Linked DNA regions of Homo sapiens: region 1 is linked to region 2. Evidence: promoter capture Hi-C in 16 types of primary human blood cells and fetal thymus (Javierre and others, 2016). All regions are on one chromosome and are shown on one strand. The core of a region is centred on a gene start or on the middle of the fragment in contact, and the rest is flanking DNA. Distances in the headings are between cores, read along the strand shown. Region 1 overlaps TEC (tec protein tyrosine kinase). Region 2 holds the start of SLC10A4 (solute carrier family 10 member 4).

The links. Contacts are between HindIII fragments. The CHiCAGO score rates a contact against its expected background, and 5 or more counts as called.
Region 1: a contact is called between a fragment that was not itself captured here and the fragment with the promoter of SLC10A4 in region 2, in 1 of 17 cell types (erythroblasts). The highest score is 5.6, in erythroblasts.

Annotation. Positions count from the first base shown.
Region 1 is chr4:48,207,934-48,211,331 of GRCh38, forward strand. All of the region lies in intron 2 of TEC (tec protein tyrosine kinase), which reads right to left. Among named protein-coding and RNA genes, the nearest start is that of TEC, 60 kb to the right of the region's middle. RefSeq lists an enhancer at 2,688-2,827. The HindIII fragment of the contact is 367 bases long and covers 1,706-2,072 here.
Region 2 is chr4:48,481,844-48,484,909 of GRCh38, forward strand. It overlaps SLC10A4 (solute carrier family 10 member 4), which reads left to right and starts at 1,500. Exons shown (of 3, transcript NM_152679.4): 1 at 1,500-2,308. The coding sequence starts at 1,719. RefSeq lists a cis regulatory region at 1-165 and silencers at 1,420-1,469, 1,550-1,679. The HindIII fragment of the contact is 5,112 bases long and covers 773-3,066 here.

The DNA.
Region 1 (3,398 bases), core at 639-3,138, 270 kb before region 2:
TGAATGAAAGAGAACAACACCATTTGGAAGAAAGAAGACCAAGGCAAACAGAGTAAGTCAACATGCCCACACCTACCGATGAGGACCCCAGTGAGAACAGAGTGATACACCCATCTGTGGTCCAGGCAGGCTCAGAACTTGGCTTCCCAGAGGCAGGGGTGAGGCAAAGAGCCAAAGTCTGAGCAGAGGGTGGGAGTGGCAGGTCTCCTCTATCCCACTTAGCCAACAACTGTGGCCAGCACATATGAATGCTTAATAACAATTTCTCCATCTGAGAATCATAATATTTGGCCATGAAAGGGATTCTGGTGATCACAGTCTAATTTCCTCAATTTAGGGTGGAAACTGAGGGACTGACCTCTCCAAGATCACACTGGCTAGCAGAGCCAGAACTAACTCCAAGCTTCTAACTGCCAGTTCATGTTTCACTGTGCCCTGGCGTGGCAACATACATGAATTAGCAACATCTTGTCTCTCCCATCTCAAAACCCTCCAAAATCTGCCTGTTACTTAAAAAACAAAAACAAAACAAACAAAAAAATGAATTTGCCCAGCTCTCTGGCCTCCTCCCCTCCCATGCCCACCCCATTCCACCTCAGTTCCTTTCCCTCTCTGCTGTTCTTTGAGCAATAAAGCATTTCCCACCTCCCTGGGGTCCTTTGTACTCTTGGCTTCTCCGTGGCCTGCCCTGCTCTTCCTAAGTTCTCTATTCCCTACCTACAGAAACAGCAGGCAAGGCCCCATCTCTCTCATGCGGCTTTACTTTTCTCATGGCAGGGGGATATTTACTGGTATCTGTACGTTGTCTGCATCTCCCCTTTAGAAGGTAAATTCCAGGACAGCAGGGCATTTACCTTCTATACTATTGTGTCCACAGAGCCTACAACAGTACTTGGCACAAAGTAGGTGCTTAAAATATTTTTGTCAAATGAACAGATTCAAGTAAAAAAGAATTGGGGGTGGTGGCTAAGAAATTCAAGTAGAGATGTCTGTGGGTGCCTTCCAAGTTAGATAGGCTGGGTTTGAATTCAATTATCCCACCGTGGTAGTCACTATGAATTATAAATCTAGATTTCTCTATTTCTAAATTTGTATTTCGGTCAATTCAGAAAATTTAAGGTTACTGGGTAGATATATTCCTCCACCACTCCCCATCAATGCCTCCCTCCAGAACACACAGCTTATAACTTTCTCAGCACAGAAAGTTTTAATCCCATGCTTTTGAATGTTCTTGTTTAGCACTTAAAATACCTTTTAATTTTTTTTAATTTTTTTCTTCTCGTAATTTGGATTAAATTCAGTAGAAAATAACCCTTCCATAATGAAGTTGATGATAGAAAACTATGTCTCTATGTAACAGTCAGACGTAGCAGAGTATAATGGTTGGTTACAAAATAAATTTGTAGGCAGGCACAGTACCTCACTTTGGGAGGCTGAGGTGGGAGGACTACTTGAGCCCAGGAGTTTGAGACCAGCCTGGCAACATAGAGAGAGCTCATCTCTACAAAAAAAAATTAAAAATAACAAATAATTAGTTGGGCATGGTAGCAAACGCCTGTATCCCAGCTATTCGGGAGGCTGAGGTGGGAGGATGGCCTGAGCCCAGGATTTTGAGGCTGCAGTGAGTTGTGAACACACCAATACACTCCAGCCTGGGTAACAGAGTGAGACTTTGTCTCAAAAAAAATAGATTTATAAAAAATCAAGCTTGATGATATATTAACAATAATTACAACATATCATGGGGAAAAAAACCTATTCACAAGAGTAGCTAAAACTATAAAATAGGAATACATTTAACAAGAAAAGTATAGGACTTCAAAAACAACAACTGTTTAACTCTATTCAGGGAAATAAAATTAACAGATTAAAGTAGAGACACACCACTTTGTTTTTCAAAGGAAGAACTTAGAGAACATAAACCAATTGTAAACATGCTTGTTTATTAGCTGTTTTACAGTGGAAATGTTTGAGAGTATTTCACTGTCAGAGTTTGCAGAAATTGTCAGATATTAGAACAAATGAAATGTTATGTGCTCTACAGAGGCAGATCCAGATTTTGAGGGATCTGAAGCTTAAACACTTTGGAGGAGAAATCTTTGTCAATTAAAAATTAAAAATAAAACTAAAATGCAAAATCATAAATGCAAAAGCTCTGGGGCCCTTCCAGAGGCCTTAGGAAGGGCTATGGAATTGAAAGAGCCTAAAGCTTACTTTTCTTTAACTCCATAGCAGACCCACCTCTGTTGTCATAAAAATGTAAAGTTGGTCAGACTCGGTAGCTTATGCCTGTAATCTTGGCACTTTGGGAGGCTGAGGCAGGAGGATCCCTTGAGGCCAGAAGTTTAAGACCAGCCTAGGCAACATAGCAAGACTCCATCTCTACAAAACTAAAAACAAAAAATTAGCAGGAATAGTGGCACGTGCCTGTCATCCTGGTCCTTAGGAGGCCAAGGTGGGAGGATCCCTTGAGCCCAGGAGTTTGAGGCTGCAGTGAGCTATGACCACACCACTGCACTCCAGTCTGAGTGACAGAATGAGACTGCCTCTTTATAAAAAAAATGGAGGAGGAGGAGGAGGAGGATGATGAGGAGGAGGAGGAGGAAGAGGGAGGAAAGAAAAACTAAAACTGAGAAAGCAACACCACAGTTACCACAACTGGCACCCTATCGATATGTGTACCACTGGCAAACATCCAGAGAAAAACATCCACAGCAGACGACCCCCAACAGAGTTCCATGAACATGGTTCAGAGATGTCAAACACATGAACCTACCCGAGGTATGCATTTCCACCAGTTACCAGAACTCCAAAACATAACCAGACTACCAGCACCACAGATCAATTTAAAGAGTGAATCACCTGTGATTAGTGACCTAATAACACAATGACACAATTACACTCATTGCAAATGCATTGATATCTGGGAAAAAACAGAGGCAAGAGCAAAGACTGAAACATGTAAAGACACAATGGGCAACAATGCAACCTACCTTATGTATATAATAATAACAGCTGCTTACATGCACTTACCTACCAGGACCTATCCTAGCCACTTTATCTATACTGATCCATTTACCCCTCAAAAACTCCTATGAGGGAAGTATTATTATTCTCCCCAGTTTAAAGGTGAGACACAGAGAGATTAAGTAATTTGTCCTAGGTCATGCAATTAATAAGTAACAGATTTAGAATTTGAACCCAGATAATCTGGCACAAGAGTCCATCCTCTTAGTCTCTCACTCCCTAACTTCACAGAAATTCTGTAAACTCAGAGATGGACCTAGACCACAGCTAAAGTTTCCTACAACTAAGAAGGAACAGAATACAGCTGATAAGCTGATTCTAGAACTTCAAGAAATATATTATCTCATCCAGTGAATTTTGGTCTTGTTTCC
Region 2 (3,066 bases), core at 250-2,749:
ACATCTTCCCTGGGTCTACTAATGTAACGGTTGGGTAGCATGGATCATTGTATATCTGAATATCTTTCTTTTTACCTACATAAGGTGACATGTCAACTTAAAATATTTTTGGTCACAACCCACTTCCTTTAAAGTTTAGCTCACTGAAGTTTTTTTTTCTGGGTTTAGTGTTTTGGAAAAGTGTAAGGGTACATTATCCTCCTAGATTCTTGCAAAAGCTCTGCCCTCGTGGAATTTACAGTCCAAAAGAGAAAAAATAAATTATTTGTGATGAAGAGTGCAATATGCTTTGCATTTGCAAAGTCTTACTTTTCATAGTCTCCATCATCTTCATGAGATTTGGGGAGGAGGAAAGGCTCAGCCCACCCTTGGGTAATAGAAGTCACTCTGTGCCAGGACAGGAGTTAGGGAAAAGTTCCCAGATAGAAGAATTCACTATATCTTGGCTCCTTGTGAAAGCAACCCTGGGCTAAGACTGAGCCTTGATTTCATTCTAGAAATTCCTGTTGGTTTTTACAACTCAACTGACTATCACTTTATGGTCACCCCCAGGGAGCTAGATGCCTCCTTAACAGGCCCCACCTGGTTGGTAAGCAGCGAAATTATTTTCCTTTCTACATGCCATCTAGTGACTGACTTAAAAGTTGTTGCATCTCCATTCCTAAGAGCTCTGCTTTTGAATTGTTTTGGGATAAACCTGTCTCAAGCAGGGAATCTCAGCACTTTATTTCTTTTCAGTCCTTTAATCCTAATGCCAGGGCCTTACTCATAAAGCTTCGTAAATCTGTGGCCACTGAAATATCCTCTCTCCACCTGCCAATAACTTCTTAAACACACATTTTTCATGGAAATTGTTATTAGCCAAGCTCTTCTCTGCCCTCTTTAGGGACACATCGCCGTGCAGATTCAGCCAGGTACTTGTGGGTTCGGTTGATAAGACTGAGAATTCCTCGTTCCTCAGTTTCCTCGTTTGTAAAAATCGAGCTTGTAAAAATGGTATCTATCTCACGGCTTTGCTGTAAGAATCGAATGAAATAATGCACACGCACTTGCACAAAACCCGCTATATTATTATTACATTCTACTTTAAGACTGAAAATCATGCAAAAAATTGTTTGCAAATTCAAGCCAGATATCGTGTCCTGCTTACTAGAGAATCGCTCATATTAAGTCAAGCACCCCTCTTAGGGCTGCAGGCTATAGGAACAGTTTCTGCCATGAGCGTGCATCGATGAGGTTATCCACCCGCCCCCTCCACTTTGTGTGTCTGGGTCTCCAGATTTCATTATAAAGAGGCAGAGCCCATCAGAGAACTTGATCGGCAGCCAGGAACGGTTTTTTCCTGCTCTGGTCCTTTGTCAGGTCTTTGTTCCGCCCCTGGCTACACTCGATAACAGAACCACTTACTGGCGATTCACAGGAGGGGACCGGGCGGCAGGGCGGGGCGGGGCCTGCGGGGCGCGGGGCCGCGGCGCGGAGCCGGCGCAGCGATTGGGTTCACCCGGGGGGCCGCGCTGCGCGGAGTGCCAGGCTGCGGGCGGCTGCAGACCTGGGAGCGGAGACCGGCCCGCCGCCCCCGACGCCGCCGAGCACGTCAGCGGCGCGCAGCCGGGGCTCGGAGACCGACGGGCAGAACGACGGGCGGCGACTGCGGCGACCGCGGGACGGCGAGAGGCACGCGGCGGGAGGGGACCGGAATCCGCAGCTCCGGCCGCGCCATGGACGGCAACGACAACGTGACCCTGCTCTTCGCCCCTCTGCTGCGGGACAACTACACCCTGGCGCCCAATGCCAGCAGCCTGGGCCCCGGCACGGACCTCGCCCTCGCCCCTGCCTCCAGCGCCGGCCCCGGCCCTGGGCTCAGCCTCGGGCCGGGTCCGAGCTTCGGCTTCAGCCCCGGCCCCACTCCGACCCCGGAGCCCACGACCAGCGGCCTCGCGGGCGGCGCGGCGAGCCACGGCCCTTCCCCGTTCCCTCGGCCCTGGGCGCCCCACGCGCTCCCGTTCTGGGACACGCCGCTGAACCACGGGCTGAACGTGTTCGTGGGCGCCGCCCTGTGCATCACCATGCTGGGCCTGGGCTGCACGGTGGACGTGAACCACTTCGGGGCGCACGTCCGTCGGCCCGTGGGCGCGCTGCTGGCAGCGCTCTGCCAGTTCGGCCTCCTGCCGCTGCTGGCCTTCCTGCTGGCCCTCGCCTTCAAGCTGGACGAGGTGGCCGCCGTGGCGGTGCTCCTGTGTGGCTGCTGTCCCGGCGGCAATCTCTCCAATCTTATGTCCCTGCTGGTTGACGGCGACATGAACCTCAGGTACGGATCTGTCTATTCCTTGGGCATCTGTCTCATCCCAGACGCGCGTTTACGGCCGTGGGCTCACGACGAAGGACAGAGGCAGTGGAGGGGTTGGAATTAGGCGTGGAGGAAGGAGGAGAAAAGGAGAGGAAGTTGATGACGCCCCGGCTTTAGAAGTCAAGGCCGACCTGCAGGTTGTGCTGCTAGGGGAGCAAGCTAGACGGCGAGGGAGCTGCTCCAAGGCTGGGATTCCATGCGCAGCGCGGCCCTTCAGCAGGGTCCCTCGCCGTCCTCCCCGAGCGTCGGGGTGGCAGCGCAGGTCGTTGTCCAGTGGAAGACAAAGAGAAGGGGGAGTCTGAACTAGAACTCGCCGGCAACGTAAAAGTAAAATAGGGCTACTGGCCCGTCAGAGAAAGTAATCTCACATAGAGTGCAGGATTGTTGAGTCCGACCAACAAGTAGCAGTCAGCAGCTTTACCATGGCTTACCTTGCAGGGGGCTTGCAAGGAAGAACGTTCCTTCCCCTCAGAATCATCCAGGCTCAATAGACTTTATAATGTCGAGGGCAGCAGTACCGAGACAGGGGGCTTGTTTTTCCTCCCTGCCTTGGGTTCATAATTCCATCGGTGTTAGACGTGCTGCTCTCTTGGCACTCTCCTCGGATGTAGGTTCTGCCCAGACTTCAACCCCGGGACTTGCAGTCTCCCCGTTCCACCTCTACTCAACATACAAGAAAAAGGTTAGCTGGCTGTTTGACTCAAAGCTCGTTCTGATTT